Regions from separate parts of the Homo sapiens genome. Here region 1 is linked to region 2. Evidence: promoter capture Hi-C in 16 types of primary human blood cells and fetal thymus (Javierre and others, 2016). All regions are on one chromosome and are shown on one strand. The core of a region is centred on a gene start or on the middle of the fragment in contact, and the rest is flanking DNA. Distances in the headings are between cores, read along the strand shown.

The links. The method cuts DNA at HindIII sites, captures the fragments that hold promoters and counts their contacts. A CHiCAGO score of 5 or more calls a contact.
Region 1: a contact is called between a fragment that was not itself captured here and the fragment with the promoter of ZMPSTE24 in region 2, in 1 of 17 cell types (neutrophils). The highest score is 5.4, in neutrophils.

What each region holds. Positions count from the first base shown.
Region 1 is chr1:40,667,110-40,673,314 of GRCh38, reverse strand. It overlaps LOC105378675 (a long non-coding RNA gene), which reads right to left. Exons shown (of 2, transcript XR_947238.3): 2 at 5,639-6,205. It also overlaps a transcript of RIMS3 not described here. Among named protein-coding and RNA genes, the nearest start is that of RIMS3, 4.5 kb to the right of the region's middle. RefSeq lists enhancers at 4,145-4,194, 4,255-4,404. The HindIII fragment of the contact is 2,529 bases long and covers 3,534-6,062 here.
Region 2 is chr1:40,256,132-40,262,278 of GRCh38, reverse strand. It overlaps ZMPSTE24 (zinc metallopeptidase STE24), which reads right to left and starts at 4,043. Exons shown (of 10, transcript NM_005857.5): 1 at 3,885-4,043; 2 at 1,294-1,440. The coding sequence starts at 4,007. RefSeq lists enhancers at 3,633-3,732, 3,823-4,102, 4,183-4,452, 4,683-4,812. The HindIII fragment of the contact is 15,848 bases long and covers 1-6,147 here.

The DNA.
Region 1 (6,205 bases), core at 3,549-6,048, 410 kb before region 2:
TAAAGTCTAAAGTGAAAAATTCAAGAGGAGGGAGCTTTCTTTTACCTGACTTTTGGGTCTTAATCTTAGTTGTTACTTCCTTTAGGAAACATTCCTTGGTCTAACAAGCCTGAGACCCTGAGATGCTTTTTTTTTTGAGATGGAGCCTTGCTGTGTCTCCAGGCTGGAGTGCAGTGGTGCATTCTTGGCTCACTGCAACCTCCGCCTCCCAGTTTCAAGCAATTCTCTTGCTTCAGCCTCCCAAGTGGCTGGGATTACAGGCACCTGCCACCACGCTCCGCTAATTTTTGTATTTTTAGTAGAGACAGGTTTTCACCATGTTGGTCAGATTGGTCTTGAACTCCTGACCTCAAGCAATCCACCTGCCTTGGCCTTCCACAGTGCCAGGATTACAGGCATAATCACAGCCTGTAATCCACCATGCCCGGCCTTTTTTTTTTTTTTTTCTCCAGAGATGGGGTCTTACCCTGTCACCTAGGCTGGAGTGCAGTGATACAATCAGTTTACTGTAGCCTTGAACTCCTGGACTCAAGCAGTCTTCTGCCTCAGCCTCCTGAGTAGCTGAAATTACAAATGTCAGCCACCACACTGGTTTGGCGGCTAGGTCTTATTTACCCTTCCACCCCCAATAGAGCATGTGGCTCAGAGTAGCTGCTCAGTAAAAGACTGATGAATGAATAACAAATAGCCTCCAAGGAGCTTCTGCCAAGTCTTTCAGACCACATCGATTTTCTCTCTGTCTCTGGAGTCCTACTGACCTTAACACTTGGAATCCTATGCGTGTTTGAACCAGAAGAAACCTTAAAAATCATCTAGCGGCCAGGCACGGTGGCTCACGCCTGTAATCCCAGCACTTTAGGAGGCCGAGGCAGGTGGATCACGAGGTCAGGAGATCGAGACCATCTTGGCTAACACGGTGAAACCCCGTCTCTACTAAAAATACAAAAAATTAGCTGGGCGTGGTGGCGGGCACCTGTAGTCCCAGCTACTCAGGAGGCTGAGGCAGGAGAATGGTGTGAACCCGGGAGGCGGAGCTTGCAGTGAGCCGAGATAGCACCACTGCAGTCCGGCCTGGGTGAAAGAGCGAGACTCCGTCTCAAAAAAAAAAAAAAAAAAAAAATCATCTAGCTATCTCCTACCTCTACCATCTCAAAGATGGGGTGATTGAGGTGATCACTTATTTGCCAACTGTATTAGTCTGTTCTTGCATTGCTATAAGGAAATACCTGAGACTGGGTAATTTATAAAGAAAAGGGAGGCTGGGCACGGTGGCTCATGCCTGTAATCTCAGCACTTTGGGAGGCTGAGGTGGGCAGATCACTTGAGATCAGGAGTTCGAGACCAGCCTGGGCAACATGGTAAAACCCTGTCTCTACCAAAAATAATTAGCTGGGCATGGTGGTACATGCCTGTAGTCACAGCTACTTGGGAGACTGAGGTAGGAGAATCCCTTGAACCTGGGAGGTGGAGGTTGCAGTGAGCTGAGATCACGCCACTGCACTCCAGCCTAAGCCTAGGTGACAGAGTGAGACTCCATCAAAAAAAAAAAAAAAAAAAGAAAAGAAAGGAAAGGGGTTTAATTGGCTCAGAGTTCCACAGGCTGTACAGGAAGCATGATACTAGCATCTGCTTGCCTTCTGGGGAAGCCTCAGGAAGCTTCCAATCATGGCTGAAGGCAAAGGGGGAGCCAGCGCGTCTTACATGGCAGGAGCAGGAGCAAGACAGAGTGGTCGGGTGGTGCCACACACTTTTAAACAACTGGATCTCATGAGAACTCACTCACTATAATGAGAAGAGCACCAAGGGGATGGTGCTAAACCATTCATGAGAAACCACCCCTAGTATAATCATCTCCCACCAGGCCCCACCTCCAACACTGGGGATTACAAATTTGACATGAGATTTAGGTGGGAACACAGATCCAAACCATATCACCAACAATCTTAGTTTTGTATCTCCAGCCACAGTTTCTCTTCTGAACTCCACAGTGAATCAGCTGCCTATGCAGCCCTCATCTGGGATGTCCCACAGTGTGTGCATCTAAACACATCCAGAATCAGCATCCCCCCCAAGGCCTAGGCATCATTCAGGCTTCCCTGTCTTGGTGAAGAACATCACCACCCAACCAGTTGTAGGGACCACCTACCTCCTACAGCCTCCCACTACCAATAAAACAGCAAGTCCAGCAGTGTCTACTACCTAAACCACAAAATCTCTCCAATTTCCCTCTGCCTCCCTAGCCCAAATCCCCATAGCTCTCAATGGACCCCTGCAAAAGTCTCATTAGTTTCCCCAAATCTGCTCTTTCTTTGTACTAATCCATGCTCCTCATTGCAGCTGGAGTGACATTTAAAAAATGCTACTTTCTCCTTTAACTCCTTTGCTGAAAGATTTCCAATATCTCTCCACTTAAAAAAATATATATTATTAAGTTATTGGCCAGGCGCAGTGGCTCACTCCTGTAATCCCAGCACTTTGGGAGGCTGAGGTGGGTGGATCAGGATTCAAGACTAGCCTGGCCAATATGGTGAAACCCCATCTCTACAAAAAACACAAAAATTAGCCAGGCGTAGTGGCACATGCCTGTAATCCCAGCTACCCAGGAGGCTGAGGCAGAAGAATTGCTTCAACCTGGGAGGCGGAGATTGCAGTGAGCAGAGATCACGCCACTGCCTCCTGGGTAACAGAGTGAGACTCCATCTCAAATATATATATATATATATATATATATATATATATAAAATTATAACTAACACTTATGGAAAATTTATATCCTAAGGTCTGTTCTAAGAACTTTACACATATTAACTCATTTAATCCTCATAACTCTAAATATTCCCATTATACAGACAAGGAAACAGAAACTCAGAGAAGCAACTTCAGGGCCTTTGTGTAAGCTCTTACCCATCCTTGGCTTGTTGATCTGGCTGACTGCTATTCAAGCTTCAGATGGGATGCCTTGGGGAGCATTCAAAGATCTCCCTGTCTAGGCCAGTCCCTCCCATAGCATCTAACCCAGTTTTTATTATACAATTATTTAGGGGGTGATTTGGTTCATGTCTGTCACCCCCATAGGCTTTAAATTCCATGTTTTGCTCATAATTATATCTTGAATATTCAACATATAATAAATACTTGATATTTGTTGAATGAATCAATGAAAAGCATTTTCAGTAAGAGAGGGGATGTGGTCAGATTTGTTTTAGAAGGATTTCTCTTGTGTAAAAGTTTGAAGGTGGTGAGACCAAGTCACCAACAGCAGCTGAATTCAGGAGTGACAGGAAGGCAGGCTGGACTAGAGGAGAGGCAAGAGGGATGGAGAGAAGTGGGTGAACCTAGGAAGTATTTAGGAAGCAAACTGGATGGCTCTGATAATTAAGTGGATAGAAGTGAGGAAGAGGAAGGAATCAGGAGGGACTCCCAAGTTTCTGAGAGCACCTTGAACTGGGGTGAGAAAGCATCTGCAAAGGAGGCAGGTTGGGTTGGCAGAGCAGGCTGTCCCTAGACCCAAGCAACTGAAACATGGAAAAGCTTTCAAAAAAATCTTTGCACCCAAACTCCTTAGCTTGGTCCTGGTGTACTTTATTCAGCCCCATCTGTGGTCTACCCCCAAACTCAGAGCATATAGATCACTGCTCCTCCCCCAAGCCCCACTTGTCATCCAGCCCACCTTAGTAAGTGCCACCCCACTACTCTCTCTCCACAAGATGCAGCTTGGAGGACGTCTCCTCTGGGATCCCTCCCCACTGCCCCCACCGCTTCCTGGGGTGAATGAGTCCTCTGTAGCCATCAGGATTCGCTGTATCAGGAGTGTTCCTCTGCTGTCACCTCTGATGACTATTTTCCTCAATTCAGAATCCCCAGCACCTGCAAAAGGCCTGGATAAAGGTAAACCTCAAAAAAGTTTGTTTTATTGAATTTTCCCAAAGGTTTGGCTTTATTACATTAAGAGCTGAGGCCAGGAATGTGGCAGTAAATTCTGGTGCCACCACTTAGAAAGACAAGTCACTTTTTTCAAGCCTCAGTTTCCGTCCATCAAATGGAGATAAGAATACAGTGCACCTACCTCGAAGAGCTGTTTTGAGGGGAAAATGAAATATGCTAGGTTAAGTGTTTAACACAATGCCTGGAACATGGTTAGTTCCCTCAAAAAATTAGCTGTTATTTATTTATTTTTAAATTCTCGCCTTGATGCTCAGAAGGGGCTGAGCAGGAACAGAGGATTGCAGTTCTTAGGATGGCCACGCGAGGGAAGTGGTGAGCAGCCTCCAGGAGGACTTCGGCTCGGCTGTGCCAAGGCACCTGCTGAGGACCCAGATGGCCCGCCTGGGGTTTCCGGGACTTCCCGGCCCCTAAACATGTGGGCGCTGGCCAGAGCGCCGCAGGAGAAGCCTCTGCCAGGTGCTCGGTCTCGACTCTCACAGCCCCAGCCATCCCTCCTGCTCGTCCCCGTCTCGGCTTGGAGGGGCTGGCGGGCAGGAGGGGACAGGGTAGGGGGCAACCAGGATATATCCCCTCCGTTTTGTCATTTGTCTTTCAAACTGACTTATGGCCATTTCTTCTGTATAGAAGCCTTGTAGTCAAACATTTCCATGTTTTCTCTTATGGCTTCTAGGTTTCATCATGCTTAGAAAGTCTTTTCCATCTCCAAGATTATTAAAATATTCACTCATGTCTTTTTTCTGATACATTATGGTGTTAAATATGTGGTCCACCTGGAATTTATTTCAGTGTCGAATAAGGGCACAGCTTTTTGTAATTTCCCCAAAAGACTTGCTGGTTATTCCACCCATTTGATCTCCGCCACCAACCCCCCCCCCCCCGCCCACAACCCCCTACCAACTCCGCCCCCCATTTGTCTGAAGTGCTGTCTTTTATTCATTCATTCATTTAGAGACAAGGTCTTGCTCTGTTGCCCAGGCTGGAGTGCAGTGGCGTGATCACAGCTCACTGCAGCCTTGACCTCCCAGGCTCAGGTAATCCTCCCACTTCAGCCTCCCTGGTAGCTGGGACTACAGGTGTGTGCAATCATGCCCAGATAAATTTTTTTTTTTTTTTTTTTTTTGAGACAGAGTCTTGCTCTGTTACCAGGCTGGAGTGCAGTGGTGCGATCTCAGTTCACTGCAACCTCCGCCTCCTGGGTTCAAGCGATTCTCCTGCCTCAGTCTCCCAAGTAGTTGGGACTACAGGTGCATGCCACCACACCCAGCTAATTTTTGTATTTTTAGTTGAGACAGGGTTTCACCATGTTGGCTAGGATGGTCTCAATCTCTTGATCTTGTGATCCGCCTGCCTCGGCCTCCCAAAGTGCTGGGATTACAGGTGTGAGCCACCGCCCCCGGCCACAAGTTTTGTATTTTTTTATAGAGACAAAGTTTTGCCATGTTGCCCAGGCTAGTCTCAAGTGATCTGCCCGCCTCAACCTCCCAAAGTTTTGGGATTACTGGCATGAGCCACTGTGCCGGGCCTGAAGTGCTATCTTTATCATACATTGAATTCCCTTGTGGGGCTGGATCCATTTCCATACTCCATTTTGTTCCACAGATCGGTCTAGTCCTGCTTCAATACCATACTGCTTTAAATACATTGACTTTATAGTATGTTTTAGTATCGGGTAAGACAAATCCCTTTTCATTACTTTTCTTCCTGGACTTTTTATTCCTGTATGTTTATTCTTCTATATACACTTAAGAATCAACCCCCTCTCCACCCACCTCCCATCCAGTCCTTCTGGTAACCAATATAGAACTTTGAAGATACTGAAATTATATGCAAAATATACATTGCACATCTCCAGAGAGATAGTGCTAAGTTTTCATCAGATGTGCAAAGGGAACCCCTGGTTTACCTGTCTCTGTGAAAGGGGCCAGGGAGGAGCACACAGGAAGCCTGATTCCTCTCTGTGCTCCCACCCCTCACCTCCACCCTCGTTCCAGGTCCTGCCCTGGCCTCCATCCCACCTCCCCTAATCTAGTCCCCCTTGCTGCTCCAGAGTAACCCATTCTACCACCCAGGCCCTAGTCCAGGCCTAGGCCTGAGGTAGAATAGCTGATAACAAAGCTTTAATTAATATGTAAATATAATCAGGAGCCCCAGCTCCACCTCTGACCAGCTATGGAACGCACTTTGAGGCTTTTCACATTGTAGGGCCTCAGTTTATGCTTCTCACAGACCAGGTGAGAAGGGAAGGCGTAGGATGACTATG
Region 2 (6,147 bases), core at 2,794-5,293:
CCTTGAAGAAATAAGTGCAGTTTCTAATAATTTGGATCTAACCACACTAGTCTTATTATTCCATACTTGTTAAGAAAAATTTTGTGATGAGCTAGACAATTCTGTCATTTACCACAGCTACATAAAGCCAGTTTCTTTAACTCATGAAACAATGATGGTAGCTGATCATAATTCTTTTAAATTTAGGAATCTTTCTCTTAGTGGTACTAGTAGATCTAAAAGTTCTAGAGAAATGATGATGATGATGATCAGGATGATAAAAATAAAAGTGGCAGGGCACAGTGGCTCATGACTGTAATCCCAGTACTTTGGGAGGCCAAGGCAGGCAGATCACGAGGTCAAGAGATCGAGACCATCCTGGCTAACATGGTGAAACCCCGTCTCTACTAAAAATACAAAAAATTAGCCAGGTGTGGTGGCACGCGCCTGTAGTCCCAGCTACTCAGGAGCCTAAGGTAGGAGAATCGCTTGAACCCGGGAGGTGGAGATTGCAGTGAGCCAAGATCGTGCGACTGCACTCCAGCCTGGGCGACAGAGCAAGACACTGCTCAAAAACAAAAACAAAACAAAACAAAAAAAGCAACAAAAAAACCCCACATTATTTCATTCAATAAATAGGAACTATATGCTGATTACATGCCAGGCACTAGGTATAAAATGATGAACAAGACTTAACTATTTCTTTAAGGAACTACCAGTCTGCCAATTAAACAGTCAAATCAGGCCAGGTACAGTGTGGCTCATGCCTATAATCCCAGCACTCTGAGACGGTATGGTGGCATGCAACTGTAGTCCCAACTACTCGGGAGGCTGAGGTGGGAGGATCATTTGCGCCTAGGAAGCAGAGGTTGCAGTGAGCCAAGATCACGCCACTGTACTTCAGCCTGGGTGACAGAGCAAGACTGTGCCAGAAGAAAAAAAAAAAAATCCAGGCAAATTCAACATAATGAGATAAGTACTCTGACAGGAATAATGATAGAATGCTACCCTATCCACATTCGTCAGGCAGGGAGTTTCAAATGGTTGCTTAGAAGACATGACATCTCAGCTGGATCCTAATGGAAGAGGATCTTTTTCCTACCTGGCTTCAGGGTAATAGTTCCCATATTCTATAGTTTTCAACTGACTAAGCAGTTATGTTTCTGTCTTTTTTGCTCCACAGCCGTTACTATCAATAACAAAGGTTAAGAAAGCATTCTGGGACTTGTAAGTGTGGTACCCTCTTTTGTGTTACAAAAATATGAAAATGAAAACAACCAGACAGACTGTCTCTCCAAGAAGTAAATTACTCACAGTGCCTTCAGTCTCTGAATAGAGTCCTGACCAGAAGCTGAAAGTGCTTTTATCCAGTTGATAGAGTCGAGATTTCTCAAATGTTTCAGAATCCATGATCTGTCCTAACTCCGGTGGTACATGAGTTGTTGTTTTATATATCCTTCTCTGAAATATTTTAAAGAAAACACTTTAGTGAAATAGTTGTTTATTACAATAGTCATTTATGATCAAACATCGAATGGTTTATAGCTTGCCACTTATATCTGTTGAATTTGCTTTATACCTACACAAATATTGCACTTGATCAAGTACATGAAACGACTGATGCAGGAAAATAAAAGCAGAACAAGAGAACCTGAGGTGACCTGACTGGTAAAACTATAATCAGGGTTGTCATCACACTTCAGTTTGTATATGTAAACCAAAGCTGTTAACATCACAACTTTGTTACATGTACTACTCATTCTGGGTATTACATACCTCCTATAATACGGAAAACAAATTCATGCAAAGGAGAAGCACACATGCTAACTGTGAGTATGAACAGATACTGAGGCTGCTCATTAAATTTGGTCCTAAATGCCAGAAACTTGAGGATCACCAGATGGAAACATATCAGGTCTGTGAGAAAAGACCAATTTTCAGCCGGGCACGGTGGGTCACGCCTGTAATCCCAGCAGTTTGGAAGACAGGGGCAGAAGGATTCCTTGAGCCCAGGAGTTCAAGACTGGCCTGAGCAATGTGGTGAAATCCCGTCTCTACAAAAAATACAAAAATTAGCAGAGTGTGGTGGTATGCACCTGTGGTCCCAGCTATTTGGGGGGCTGAGGTGGGAGGATCACTTGAGCCTGGGAGGCAGAGGTTGCAGTAAGCCCATATTGTGCCACAGCACTACACCCTGGGTGACAGAGAATCTATCTCCTTAAAAAAAAAAAAAAAAAAAAAAAAGGAGAAAGATCAACTATCTCATTATACTAAATTATAAAAGGTAAGGGTAATTTCAGTCCAGGAAATGTAATACAGAGAATGGATACCAAACAAAATAATGGGCCACTACAACATGCTTTCCCTATATATTGTTGTGTGCCAATAAAAGCTGAGGGGAGATCGAGCACGGTGGCTCATGCCTGTAATCCCAGCCCTTTGGGAGGTGGAGGCGGCAAGATGACTTGAGTCCAGGAACTCCAGACCACCCCGGGCAACATCTCTACAAAAAAATCAAACAATTAGCCAGGCACAGTGATCCGCACCTGTGGTCCTAGCAACTCAGAAGGCTGAGGTGGAGGTGGAGGGGTCGTTTGAGCCCACGAGTTCGAGGCTGCCTTGAGCTATGATGATGCTACTGTGCTCCAGTCTGGGTGGCAGAGTGAGCCCCTGTCTCTAAATACAATAAATATTCTATCCTGGCCAAGATGGTGAAACCCCGTCTCTACTAAAAATACTAAAATTAGCTGGGCGTGGTGGCACGTGCCTGTAATCCTAGCTACTCGGGATGCTGAGGCAGGAGAATCATTTGAACATCCCTCCCTCTGCGCGCTGCTGGCAGTGTCACAGACACACTCTTCCCCTTGCAGACTCTCCCTCGTCCCTCCTAGTTTCTTGCAGTGAGCCGAGATAACGCCACTGTACTCCAGCCTGGTGACAGAGCTAGACTCTAAAATTAAATAAATAAATAAAGATTAAAAATAAATAAATAAAAGTTCAGATCTCTAAACCATGGTTATCTCAGGTAAATTGTTAACTTTCACTTTTTATTTTACCATTTTAATATTTAAACTAAAATAATGTTGATTTTATGAAAAACGAGAAATATATTTCATTTAATTTCATTTATTTATTTATTTTGAGATTGAGTTTCACTCTTGTCGCCCAGGCTGGAGTGCAGTGGCACAATCTCAGCTCACTGCAACCTCCGCCTACTGGGTTCAAATGATTCTCCTGCCTCAGCCTCCCAAGTAGCTGGGACTACAGGTGCGCGCCACCACACCCGGCTAATTTTTCTATTTTTAGTAGAGACGGGTTTTCGCCACGTTGGTCAGGCTGGTCTCGAACTCCTGACCCCAGGTGATCCGCCCGCCTCGGCCTCCCAAAGTGCTGGGATTACAGGCATGAGACACCACGCCGGGCCCGATAAGTTTTTTGTTTGTTTGTTTGTTTTTTCAAGCAGAAACAATATATGCACTTTAAGGAGAAACAAGAGTGCAAGTTCTTGGAAGGACTGCAAAATCCTATGGTTAGGCATGATTACATAAATGTCATGAGGAAGTTGGGTGTCTAAATCCTTTTAAAGGCTTATTCCAAAGATAAAGGAGGCCAAGTCTGGGCCCAAGGATCCCAAGGAAGCTGCAGGGAGGGCACAAGAGCCCAAGCCTTCCTCCAGGCCCTAAAGGGATTGGGTCCCATGATAACGTTACAGAAAACTTCCTTGACGCACCAAGACCCTCCTCAAAGCCACAGTCCGCCATCGGGCCAAGTTACGAGACTCAGCAGGGACCACAAAGACGAGACTGGCGCGGGGACCGAAGCAATCAAGAGTCTCAGGGTCGAAGCCAAGGCTACTCCAGGGCTGGCCGGGTATGGGGGTCAGGTTGGACCCTGTCTAGGCTCACCTGCCGCTGTGCTAGGAAGGTCTCCCAAAGATACACTGTCCAGGAAAAGAGCAGCACGGCCCCGAAGATACGCTTCTCGGCCGGCATCTCCCACAAAGCGTCCAGCGATGCCCACATCCCCATGGCCACCCGGTTCCGCCGGCTCCTTCAGCGTGCACCGGTGCCACACCGACACTCGTCCCTTCAGAGCGTCCCCGCGGTGTCACAGCAATATCCGTTCTTTCCGAGGGCCCCTACGCCGATACCCGCCCCCATCCCTCCCTCTGCGCGCTGCTGGCAGTGTCACAGACACACTCTTCCCCTTGCAGACTCTCCCTAGTCCCTCCTAGTTTCTACAGGAAAAGCCCCAGCCCCACCTTCCTCACTTCCGGCCCAAAGAGGGCGGGGACCCAAACGCCGAGTTCCGGGCCCGGCTGAGCTGTGTTGCATCAACATTCTTCCCCCACGTCTTGACGCTGGGTTCCGGCCTAGGGTTCTGGCTTTCCTCCTGGGCTAGTGAACGCGGCGAAGTCCTCCTCTTTCTAATCTCCAGAGCCGCAGTTCCATCCTCTGGGTCAGCGGCTTACCCTGACTGGGCTGCGGTATCTGCCTTCCTTCCCCCAACAAGGCGACAGGTAGTCGGGGCTGGGGCCGGAACTGACTGAGTGGGCCGCAACTGACTGAGTGGGCCGCGGCTCCCGCCTGAGGAGGCTAGGAAGGACTGAACAGCAGCCGACTTCCCAGGCTCTAAAAATCGTGCCTCTGAGTTAGAGCTACCTCAAAAGCAAGACCAAGCATGAGAAATGGAGTCTTTTGGCCAGTATTGGGGTGTTCGGAATTCAAGCGTATGAGAGAGTGGACGGTAGCGTTGAGAATTTTCATTTGAAGATCTCGTCTTAACCACCCCAAGTGTAGTCAGAGGCGGCGTTTTCCCTGCGAGAGTGCCCTGGAACAAAGCAAGGATAGCGTGGGTTAGACATACCTGAAATGAAAGCGTCTTACTTTATCTAGGTACATATTTGCGTCAGTAAGGCGCAACGCCATTTCTCTCTTGGAATTCAGAAGTGAAATATGGTGACTGGGACGCCTGTACATTGCTTTGACTTAAAAATTGAAGTCCATTATTCTGACCGAAAGTTAATCTGATGATTAATTGGTTAAACATACTATCGTTGCTAATTAGCATAATTATTATTTACAATAAAGTGAGCTAAATAGCTACAACTAAAATATATTTAAATTACTGTGATATTGTGATGCTAAAGATGTGTTGAAATTAATATCTTGAATTTCTCAACCCTGCCTAAATGCCTCTGAGAGTAATTAGTATAATTAAAAGTCACTAGAGAAAGTGAATGACTCTAATAACAGGATAACAAATTCTTTTCAAGTCAGATGGTTTCCAGTTCTTTGCTTTCAACAAAATTAATGGTGGCCCATGAATTGTCAGCTGATGAAGGAACACTATTTGGTTTTTGGCATGCAACTCGGAAAGAAACCAAACGATTGATTGACATGCTTACAACAAAACTACTAGCATTCTCACCTATTTATGTAAAACCATTTCTCAGCACTTGTATCTGTGAAAACAACAGAATTGAAAATGAACCCTGTTAATCTACCAGTAGGAACTATTCATCCAGATAAATGAATTAATTGGTGGGTCAGCCCCATCTATCTCACTAAGAGATGTGTTCCCAATAGAATTTCACCTTTTATAACTGTGTGTTATCAATATTTGCAATCGTGTCATTTTGATCCATTATATACTAAAGATGATTGTGATGATTACTCACTTCAGAAGAATTCCAGCGTAGAGCCATAAAGTTACACGAAATTTTTTAAGGTTTACTACATATGTCATATTTTTATTGCGAAGAAGTGATCAAGAAAAGGTTGTTCAAACATCAAAGTACTATATTTGAATAACATTTTTTGTTAGAGTACAATCTAAATATGTTAGAGATAATAAAAGAACAATGTTGAAGAGCTCATTAGTGTATGTTTTAATGCATAATGGTGGTTATTCAGTTGTTATGTAGATTCTCTTGGATACATTATAAAGAGTGATTTAACAGTTTTATCTTAAAATGTCAGTATTTACAATTTGCAAGAATTTACATCCATTGCAACTATTTGAATTTATGATGGAACCAGTTAGATACCAACTTAAATATATAAGGGGTAAACACTTTTTCAAAATTTTCTCTCCCTCAGGCCATCATTGCTATGCCCTCTTCACTCTTGACTTCAGCTGTCTGTGAGTCCAAAGCCTCACAGGAGC